Linked DNA regions of Homo sapiens: regions 2 and 3 are each linked to region 1. The links are contacts of gene promoters, found by promoter capture Hi-C in blood cells and fetal thymus (Javierre and others, 2016). All regions are on one chromosome and are shown on one strand. Each heading gives the region's core, a stretch centred on a gene start or on the middle of the fragment in contact. The rest is flanking DNA. Distances are from core to core; before and after follow the strand shown. Region 1 holds the start of PPIH (peptidylprolyl isomerase H). Region 2 has its middle 16 kb from the start of FOXJ3. Region 3 holds the start of GUCA2A (guanylate cyclase activator 2A).

Region 1 (3,650 bases), core at 519-3,018:
AATAATAAAATAAATAAAAAGTGTGTCAACATACTGTTTTCATAGTCAAGTTACTCAACCTCCTTGAGCCTCAATTTCTTGATTCCTAAAATGGGAACAATAATAGTTCTCTATCCCATAGGGTTGTGAGGACCAAATGAAATGAAGCATGTAAAGTATTTAGCACGTAGTAACTGCTTAATAAATGCTATCATCATTTATTTTCACTAGAGGTTTATCAATGTACTATTTTTTTCACAACCTCATCAACATTGGATATTATCAATTTTAAAGATTTATTCTAAAACAGTTGGTATAAAATTATACTGAAGCGTGACTGCTGCTGTTCCTTTTCCCCCTCCTCCCCTTTCTTCTTTTTCAGTTGGAGGAGACCAAGAGGAGAGGATCAGTAACCAGAAATAAAAATGACCCTTTACATTGAGACACACTGTATTTTTATATGTAATCCTTGCTTTCTCAGACAACAGAGCTAGAAAGATGATCATAGGAACTAGGAAATAATAACTATTTTATTAAATGCATGCTGTTATATTGAATGAGCCTTGCCCAAGGTCCCCTTCTTTCACTAAATTCATTGCATCTATTATTTATTGAATACCTACTATATGCTATTCAGTAGGCGACATTGCAGCTACAGCTGCGAATAGGACCAGGAGAGTCTCTACTTTCATGGAGTTTATATGCTATCAGGGAGGAAGATTATGTGTGTGTGGCAGGAAATGAGGTGTAGACACATACCATACGAAGATAATGTGGAAGTGGGGGTGGCATGAAGAAAACAAACCAGTGATCTGAATGACCAAGGGCTACTTTAGATTAGGTCTAATGTTGCCTCTCAGGAGGTAACATCTGGGGTGAGCCCTGAACTACAAGGAGCATTACTTCCCACACGCATACCCCAACCAACCCCCACAATCCCCCGCCAACCCACATTAAGTTCTGGAAGGAATATTTCAGACAGAAGTAACAGCTATTACAAAGCCCTAAAGAGAGGAGGGATCTCAGTGACCTGGAGGAACAGACAGGTCAGAGCACAGTAACTAAGGGCAAGTGGTACAAGATGAGGTCAGGTACGTGATAGCCAGATAAATGCACTGTAGGGCTTCGTATGCACGGAATTGGATTTTATTCTAAATATGGGAAGCCAGGAGTTATTTTTAAAATAAATAGGAAGCACAAGAGTTATTTTAAAAATAAAAAATAAAAAACTCTAGTTGCTTTATGGGAAATGAATTGGAAATGACAAAACTGGTAGCTTTTGTGGCAGAACAAACATTATCTATTGTCCTGACTTAGAGGAAGGGATATTTACTTAGCAAGCCTGTACGTGCCAAGCTGTTCTAAACGCTGAGGATGAACAAACCAGAGTTCCTGCCTTCACGGTGTTCACACTAGCGGGCAGAAGACAGACAGCACGTGTGGCGGTGCAGAGGGCTTGGCTGCAAGAGCCGATAAGGAGGACCCTGGCGACTGCCTAGTCCAAAAGTCCTAGCTAGAGCAAGATCAACTTGTACTGCCCTTAGTACAGCCACGTGAGTGGGGTGACCATTGACCTTAACCAAAAAGATGTCAAGGCTTTCCTCCTCCTCACTCCCGCGTCCCCAGTGCCAGGCAGAGTCTCTCAGCTAGACCCTAGCAGTCTCAGCACACACCGCACGGGGCGACAGCTTCCGGGGGCGGAGCCTGGTCTCGCTCCACGTCTACCGCGCCTGCTCCCCGGACGAAATCCGCGGACCGGGCTTTAGGTTCGCCGGAATCCCACGCTCCCGACTTCTGCTTCCGGGTCGGAGCCATGGCGGTGGCAAATTCAAGTCCTGTTAACCCCGTGGTGTTCTTTGATGTCAGTATTGGCGGTCAGGTGAGATCCAGGAGGCTGCCCACACCTGCGCCGAAGGGAAACTGCTCGGGGCTAGGCAGGCAGAACTCACCCAGAGAGAGCGGACTCGGGAAGCCAGCCAGAAAGTGAAATTGCACCCGAACCTACCGACCTGCCGGGCGGGGGGAAAGGAGGAGGAGGAGTCTCCCCAATCCTAGCGCCCCGCTTCTGGAGGAACTGGGCGGTTAGACTAGGGAGGCGGAGGTGGGAGATACCGAGCGGCAGGGTGGTGGGTCAGCCCATCATGCCCCCTGCTCCGTGAAGCCCTCATGGTCTTGGACTGGGCCTTCTGACACTCTCCCGCTGATTGCAGGAAGTTGGCCGCATGAAGATCGAGCTCTTTGCAGACGTTGTGCCTAAGACGGCCGAGAACTTTAGGTAAGGACGTGCTCCAGCTCCGCTGGATTAGCTGAGGCAGAAGTCGGGCTCCAGTCAGCCGCCTGAAATAGCCTGTCTACCTCTGTCCGTCCGCTCACTGCTCTTGAGACCTGATTCCTCCATGCATTGCTCTGTCTGGTTGCCGTTTGGATTGTTCCCGTGTTAATTTACGTTGTTAGTCTGTGTGACTGCGTGTCTGGACGTCTGGCTGGCCGATTGGTGGACTTGCTGGCTCCAGTGTTTATTCTTTCCCGTATTTAGAGGCGCTCACGACTGTGACATCATAGTGATTGAATCATTCATTTTTTGTCCCTTTCAGGCAGTTCTGCACCGGAGAATTCAGGTCAGTTTCAGATGTGTTTGACTTCTTTGCCTGCTCCAGAGGGGTGTTCTGGGGCTGCAGTGAGGGTATCGGTGAACCACCTGCTGGCCTTGAATGATTGCTGGTGACAGTGATAGAAGGTAATGCCCCAAGGGTCTGTCCCTAGTTTATTTGCCTTCTTTATGTCTGTCAACCATCTTTAGGAGAGTCCTTTTGGCTCCAGTGCATGGTAAACTGGAAAGGCCTTGTGCTACCTGCTGTCACTCCAAGTCTCTTTCTTTTCGGTTATAGGAAAGATGGGGTTCCAATAGGATACAAAGGAAGCACCTTCCACAGGTAAGGCTCTTGGCAAGCCATCCTGGAGTCTTTCAGAAATATTTCCTGGGGGATTAGGCTCTTTAGAGGAAAATAAAACCAGAGGGTAATTCTTACATTTCTTGAGAAGAAATGTTTTTGTGGACTCAACAACTGAAGATTTATTAAATGTTCTAACTCTACTTACACTCCCCCACTTCTTAGGTCTTTAAAACAGAAACTACTCATCTTTACAATATCTTGTCTTTTTCATGCACTTGTTTGTGCGAATGCAGATTTTTTAAAAAGTACACTTGTAATCCTAAAGTGCATATAATATATCCTGCTGGTTGATATTTATAACTAATTCCTAAAATGATCATATATGATTGTCCAAGGATAATCATATTTCCTGGGGAGTGGAGTATGTCAACACTTAGTCTCATTTCAATATAGAATCTTTCTCATGGCCTCACTGTGGTTAGTAACAATGTTAGCACATAATTATATCACAGCTTTAGAGCTTTGGGTCTCTAATCCCCAGTAAGACTCCTGTGAAGTGGTATGGGTGATCTGCATTCTACAGAGGAGGAAACTGAGGATAAGAAAGGTTAAGGACCCTCCCTAGGGGTAATAGCTAACAGTTGTTAAGCCCTTACATGTTTAGCAGTACATTTCACATAAATTCTCTGTAGTTCTTTCCCCCAAATTTACATCAAACCCTTGCTCTGCCTTTTGCTTTGGCAAGTAAGCTTTCAGCCCCTTCTTCTTATTACTGTT
Region 2 (3,529 bases), core at 103-2,602, 310 kb before region 1:
CATTTGACAGCATTGATCTAAATGTTTTTCCTAAAAACATCTCACCCATGCTCTAGGTGTCAAATATCCCCTTTATGAAATGATTTTAAGGTTCCAAATCCCAGCCTGTTTTCTGATATTCAAACCCACATTTCCACTGTCCTGCTGGCCTTTCACAGACAGGCACTAGCTCTTCAGCTCAACATGAGCAAAGCTATGACCTTTCCTTCCAAACCTGTTTTTATCCTGGTTGGCTTTATTAATCTTTTGTGTTAGTTCTTATTGCTGTTGTAACAACTTACCACAAACTTAATGGCTTAAAATAACATAAATGTATTATTTTACAGCTCTGGAGGTCAGCAGCCTGAAATAGGTTCCACTGGGCTAAAAGCAAGGTTTTGCAAAAGCTGCATTCTTCTGGAGGTTCTAGGAGACAATCTATTTCCTTGATTTATTCAACTTCTAGGAGCTGCCAGCATTCTTTGGCTCATAGCCCACTTCCATCTTCAAAGCCAGCAATGGTCGAGTCTCTCTCATGTCACATCACTCTGACACTCACTCTCCTGCCTCCCTCTTTTATTTCTAAGGACCATTGTGATTGCATTGGGCCAATACAGACAATACAGGATAATCTCTCCATCTCAAGATCAGCTGATTAGCAACCTTAAACTTCATCTTCAATCTTAATTCTCCCTTTCCATGTAAATTAATATATTCACAGGTTCCAAGGATTAGGGGATGGACATCTCACATGAAAGGGCTGGACAGAAAGGGAGAATCTGTGCGCAAGTCCAGCAAGAAAAGAAGTGATCATCAGAACACATCAGATGGGATAGCTCTCATTGCTTTTAAAGTGGATTGCTGAGACTAATAGAGATCAGTTAAAGGGGCTGGCTGCGATAGACACCAATGGTCTAACCTCCCACTTAGTTCACTGCAAAATCTACCTTCTCCAAAACTCCATTCCTGATTACTCCTCTCCCCAAGTTACACTTTCCCTCCATGATATGTGATAACCTTTGTATTTCCTCGGACATCTGTCTTACTCTGCTTTGTATTTTGATGAGATATTTAAGCACTTGATCTTACTTAACCTGTCTACTAGTTTGGGAAATATTTTGTGAATAGAAACTGCTTGATTCACCTTTGTGTTTAGCCATGATGCCTAACATGGTACTTAATATATAGTAGTTTCTCCATAACTATTTCTTGAATTTAGTTGAATAGAAACAAATCATGTTGGCATATAGTGGGTATGTTGCCACAATCACTAATTTCCCTAAACAGTGGACACTTTCTAGTTGACTTCCACTTAACTGATACTATTTCTACTATCTTAAAAGAACCATCAGTGTGAAGCCTTATAGATAATGGGCTGTTGTGCACTTGAGTTTCATGCTCATCTGGAGTCATTTGTATTTTATTTAATAACCTATTGACATCATGTGTAGTTGATATTCTAACTAATTTATTTAATATAGTTATATAGACCAATGTACTATAAATGTCAAAAGGATGAGAGTTGTTTCTGTAAAGACTGTGTTGATTATCCTAGAAATGCAAGGAAGTGCAGCATCCTAAAATCTATTGATGTAGTATACCACTCTAACAGATTAAGAGAGGAAAAACTATGACCTTTTCAATAAATACAGAAAAGGCATCAACATTTAACACTCATTCATGGTTTTAAAAAATCTTTAGAACTGGAATTAAAAGTCTAGCTATGGTCCTTATATAGAGATAATATGATTGATTACATACAAAGCCCCAAAATAATCTATAAAATAGAATCTTTTTTTTTTTTTTTTTGAGATGGAGTCTTGCTCTGTCACCCAGCCTGGAGTGCAGTGGCGCGATCTCGGCTCACTGTAACCTCCGCCTCCTGGGTTTCAAGTGATTCTCCTGCCTCAGCCTCCCGAGTAGCTGGGATTACAGGCATGCGCCACCATGCCCGGCTAATTTTTGTATTTTTAGTAGAGACAGGGTTTCACCATGTTGGTCAGGCTGGTCTTGAACTCCTCACCTCAGGTGATCCGCCCACCTCAGCCTCCCAGTGTGCTGGGATTACAGGCTTGAGCCACCACACCTGAGCTAGAATAGAATCTATTAAAGCTAGTAAGGGAGTTTAGCAAGTTTGCCATATTCAAGACCAATAAAGAAATCAATAGCCTTTCTTTTTTCTTTTCTCTTTCTTTATTTGTTTTAGAGACAGGGGTCTCACTACATTGCCCAGGCTGGAGTGCAGTGGCTACTCACAGGTGTGATCACTGTGTACTACAGCCTCAAACTCCTGAGCTGAAGTGATCCTCCTGCGTCAGCCTCCAGAGGAGCTCAGACTACAGCTATATGCCACTATGCCTGGCTCAATAGACTTTCAATATCAATAAATAATTAAAACCTGTATTAGAAATGAAGATCTCATCCACAATACTGATACAAATAAAAAGATTATTAGAAATCAACCTGACAAACATTATGTAAGATCATTGTGAAGAAAATTCCAAAATTGAAGAACAAATACAAATACATACACAGATCTGAATAAATGAAGATATCCACCAGGTTCATGAGTTCAATATCATAAAGATATAAATTCTTCCTTAATTTGTCCATAAATTCAATACAATTCTAAATTAAATCCAGCTATGACTTTTTGTGGAACTAAACAGTCTGATCTTAGGATTCATTTGGAAGTAGAAAAGGACAAGATAATTTTGAAGATGCGGAACAACATAGAAAGACTGTGCCACCACATATCAACTTATTTTATTTTATTTATTTATATTTTGAGACTGAGTCTTGCTCTGTCACCCAGGCTGGAGTACAGTGTTGCAATCTTGGCTCACTGCAACCTCCACTTCCTGGGTTCAAGTGATTCTTGTGCTTTAGCCTCCCGAGTAGCTGAGATTACAGGCATGCGCCACCATGCCCGTCTAATTTTTGTGTTTTTAGTAGAGACAGGGTTTTGCCATGTTGGCCAGGCTGGTCTCGAATTCCTGACCTCAGGTGATCCGCCCTCCTCAGCCTCCCAAAGTGCTGGGATTACAGGCATGAGCCACCGCGCCCAGCCTTATTTTAAAGTTATAAGATTTAAGATGGTATGACATTAGCTTAGGGATAAATTGTTGAATGGAATGGAAAAGAGACCTTAGAAAGAAGTCCATGAATATACACAGACTTGACATGTTCAAAGGTGGTATTACAAATGTAGAGGGAAGGAATGAATTAGTCAATAAATGGAAAATTGGTTGTTCTAAAGGACCAAAATAATACACCTGCCCCCTGGGGAGCCCCAGGGGCTGCTGACATTCCTTCATTTCCCAACACTTCTCAATCTCCCCACAGAGTGAGAGCCTGGCCTCCGTTGCTCTCAGTACATCAGAAGACACAATGACTCTGGTGCCCAGGTCCCAACCTACCAGACTCATAGAGAGTCTTCCCATCCCCATAAATCTCAGATAAAGCATCAAGCACCATATAACAGCACTGAAGACTGGTTTGCCAACTGGTTACACAGAGAAGCTGTGTAACACAGCCCAGAAGTTAACTA
Region 3 (3,758 bases), core at 295-2,794, 490 kb before region 1:
CTTAGTTCCCAAACCTCAGCAGTTACAACTTGGAATTGAAGTGGGCATGGAACAGACCCACCAATCAGAGCCAAGCTCCCTAGTTCCACCAGTCAGAGCTGAGCCCTTCCTCCAAATCCCACCAATCAGAGCACATCTCTTCCTCAAGTGCCACCACAGTATTCCCGAACCCCACCAATCAGAGAGGAAGGAGGCTGCTCACCCAGCCTCTGAAGTATCTCCTGGGCATTGGGCTCCTTGCAGAGAGGCTTGAGTTCTTCTGGAAAGTTCGGGTTGCTACAGAGGATGGGAACCACAGGTTCACCAGGGATGGGTGCAAAGTTCCTGAGTTTCCCAACCCTGGGCTCCTGGGGCTCCTGGAGGTCTTTGAGCTTCTTCACTGACTCCAGAGAAAAGGAGAAATTTCCATCCTGGAAGAGAGAAGCCCAGAGCATGAGGCCAGGCTGCAGCCTGCTTCCTGGCTGTGCCCCCCGTGCTGGCCCCGGTCCAGCCCAGTGGTGCTCACAGGCAGTGTTCGTGGCATATGGGAGCCAGGCGATCCACAGTGGGGCACTGTGAGGGGCAGAGTTCAGGCCCCACGTCCTGGCTTGGCTCCGTGATGCTGGACACTCTGGAACCCGCAAATTCTGCATGTTGTATGGGGAATGGAGAAAATGGGTGTGAAGCTCCAGGAACACCATAGGTGCCTAATGAGTAGGAGCCAGTGTGCTGATTTTTAGGGAGAGGCAAAGGACCAGCACCCAGGCATCGTAGTTCCACGTGGCCAAGCCCAGGCTGTCTTTCCCCTGCCTGAGAGCGGTGCGGCTGATTACTGGGCCCCCAGCTCCAGCCTGCAGCCTGGTTTTGGTTTGAGAAGCAATAAAAGGCCTCCCGGAATCTGGCTTTGATAGAGATCAGGGCCCCCGCTAGGTGCCAGCTTGGCCTGTCGCCAGCATTGGCACTGGTAGGCATACCCATCTGTCAGGACCTCCAGGGTGTCCATGTGGTTCCTGGGACCCACTGAGGAGTAAGGTCTGGATTTAAATCCAGCTCCTGCACTTCCCACAGCCATGTGCCCATGGCCTGTTACAGAACCTTTGTGAGGCTCAGTTTTCCCCTCTGTAAAATGGGACTAATGATCCCTTTCTTCCAGGTTGATAGTGGAGCCACAGTGAGGGGCTGGGGAAGGAGCCGGCACATAGGACACTCAGTAAATTGGCCAACTCCCCGCCTTCCCCATATGGTTATTCCTCTTCCCTCCACTGGGTTTCTTTCTCCTCCAAAGTTGAAGGGAAAGGTGTGTGTGTGGCTGGACTGAGCAGGAGCTCCTCGAAGAAGGCCAAGCCTGGGACACACACCCTCAATCCAGCCCCAAAGAGGAGGTACTCTCTCAGGGGACCAGACCTGGGCACTAGGGGCAGGGAGCCAGCTGGGCCGGGGTAGGGACACAGGACTCACCTGCACGGTGACCCCTCCTGCCAAGGCGGCCCAGGCCCCAAGGAGGCACAGTGCGGAGAGCAGGAAGGCATTCATGGCAGCAGTGCCCGAGAGAGGGGTGGCTGTTCTGGATGCCAGGGGGAAGCGGCGGGACTTTTAAAGAGGGCAGGTTACTGAGTAACCTGGAAGCCTCTGTCAGTCTCATCTGCTCACCTGTCAGGCCTTATCAGATAAGGCTCGAGACAGCCCTAGGAGATAAGAGCCAGGCAGGGGGGGCCCCGGCCCCTCCCTGAGCACCTACTTTGACCCACAGCCGGGCTGGGTCCTGCATTCATTCACCAACAAGGCACATTCACTCACGACTGCCCTGTGCTGCTGTGTGGGGCCGGCAGACCCTGCCCTTGAGGAGGGGGGCCCAGCCCGACAGTGAAACGCAGGGCGATTAGGGTGGGGTGATCCTAGGATGAGGTGACGGGGCTGCACTGGGGGCTGAGCTCTGGAGAATGGGTGGAAGTTTTCCCAGAGAAGGGACTGAGGACAGAAGGCCATTTCATGCCAAAGGGACAGCCAGGAGGTGAGACGGGCCTGGAATATTCAGGGAAATGTGAGAAATTCCACGGGGGAGGCTGCAGGGCAAGTCAGGGTCTGGGTTTGATTGCCGCGACCTCAAGGAAGCCCTCCGCACAGCCTGGGTTCCGTTCCACCTACTGCCCAGTTGTGAGGCGTGTGAACTTGGGCCAATGCTTTCCCCTCTCTGAGTCTCGTTGTCCCTTGTGTCCCCTGTGGGAACCAAAAATAATACCTACCTCATGGGGTAGGTGTGTGGTAGGCATTACTGTTTGGAGAATCAAGTGAGGTTTTAAAAACATTTAGCTCAATGCCTGGCACACAGAAGGTGCTCAGCAGAGGTCCATTCCCATATTATTAGCAGCCACAGCAGCTCCTGGTCCTCCCTGGCCCCTCTGGTGACCTCCTGCCTGTCTGAGTCACAGGCTGTCCCCATCCTGTGCTGGTCCCCATCCTGTCCTGCCTGCCCTGCAGCCTCAGGGTGTCCTCGAATGAGCTCCTCCCCAATCCGCCCGCCCCCCTTGCCCCTGCAGATACAGTCCCCTTTCCGCGGATCTCACTGGGGAATTGCTTGGGTGTGCCCGCGCCCCTATAGACTCTGACCCCATTCAGACTGCGCCCTCAGGGCAGCGTGCATTCACTGTGTGCTGTTGTGAGCAGGAATCCCCAGGACACAGGAGAAAGGGTAGCCCTGGGATTGTCATCTTTCTACTCAGCCAACCTGGCCCGATGCCAGGACAGCCCTAGGGCGGGAGGTTGGGCAGGAATTCCTGGGTGGGGAGAGTCAACACTGAAGAGGGAATTGGAGAGAGCAGGGCCTGACCAGGAGGGAACTGCAGGGACAAGGCCCTCAGGGAGGGGCAGGTAGCTCCTGGCCCAGCTCCCAGGGCAGTCCTCACAGCTGCACTGGATTTCCCACCCCTTTCTGGTGAGTGTGTGTGTGTGTGTGTGTGTGTGTGTGTTAAGGGGGGGTGTGTCTGCGGAGATGTGTATGTCTGTGTATGCCAAGGTGTCTGTATATACCCTGATGGGTGTGTGTAGCCAAGGTGTGTTTGTATGTGTGCTTGTGCTGAAGGTGTGTGTGTGCTGAGGCATGTGTGTACACTGAGGAGTGTATGTGTATATATGCTGAGGTGTATGTGTGTGTATGCTGAGGGGTATATGTGTGTCCGTGTACACCAAGGTATCTGTGTCTGTGCAAGGAGGTGTGCATATATACATCGAGGTGTGTGTGTGTCAGTGTGTATATACACAGGCGCGTGTGTGTACACCGAGGTGTGTGTGTTTGCTGGGATGTGTGTCTGCTGGGGTGTCTGCTGGGGTGTGTGTATGTGCACTGAGGTATGTGTGTGTGTATGCTCATGTGTGTATATGCACTGAGATATGTGTGTGTATGTGCACTGAGGTGTGTGTGTGTATGCTGAGCTGAGTGCATCTGCTGTGTTGTGCGTGTGTGTGCCGAGGTGTGTGTATACACTGAGGTGCATGTATGCGCTGAGGTGTGTGTGTGCTGACGTGTGTGAGTGCTGACGTGTGTGTATACACTGAGGTGCGTATGTGTGCTGAGGTGCGTATGTGTGCTGAGGTGTGTGTGTGCTGACGTGTGTGTATACACTGAGGTGTGTGTGTGTGCTGAGGTGTGTGTGTGTGCTGAGCTGTGTGTGTGCTGATGTGTGTGTATACACTGAGGTGTGTGTGAGTGCTGATGTGTGTGTATACACTGAGGAGCGTGTGTGTGCTGAGGTATGTGTGCGCTGATGTGTGTGTATACACTG

What was found. The method cuts DNA at HindIII sites, captures the fragments that hold promoters and counts their contacts. A CHiCAGO score of 5 or more calls a contact.
Region 2: a fragment that was not itself captured here is called in contact with the fragment with the promoter of PPIH in region 1 in 1 of 17 cell types (megakaryocytes); the score reaches 7.1 in megakaryocytes.
Region 3: a contact is called between the fragment with the promoter of GUCA2A here and the fragment with the promoter of PPIH in region 1, in 2 of 17 cell types (endothelial precursors and erythroblasts). The highest score is 6.1, in endothelial precursors.

Annotation. Positions count from the first base shown.
Region 1 is chr1:42,656,655-42,660,304 of GRCh38, forward strand. PPIH (peptidylprolyl isomerase H) reads left to right here and starts at 1,769. Exons shown (of 10, transcript NM_006347.4): 1 at 1,769-1,858; 2 at 2,190-2,254; 3 at 2,574-2,597; 4 at 2,868-2,912. The coding sequence starts at 1,793. It overlaps CCDC30 (coiled-coil domain containing 30), which reads left to right. Exons shown (of 21, transcript NM_001395517.1): 21 at 1-536. The region is part of intron 1 of LOC124904162 (a long non-coding RNA gene); the gene reads right to left. The HindIII fragment of the contact is 5,565 bases long and covers 1-3,620 here.
Region 2 is chr1:42,349,823-42,353,351 of GRCh38, forward strand. No RefSeq gene overlaps it. Among named protein-coding and RNA genes, the nearest start is that of FOXJ3, 16 kb to the left of the region's middle. The HindIII fragment of the contact is 5,212 bases long and covers 1-3,529 here.
Region 3 is chr1:42,163,201-42,166,958 of GRCh38, forward strand. GUCA2A (guanylate cyclase activator 2A) reads right to left here and starts at 1,545. Exons shown (of 3, transcript NM_033553.3): 1 at 1,438-1,545; 2 at 203-410. The coding sequence starts at 1,512. RefSeq lists an enhancer at 1,405-2,369. The HindIII fragment of the contact is 7,781 bases long and covers 1-3,758 here.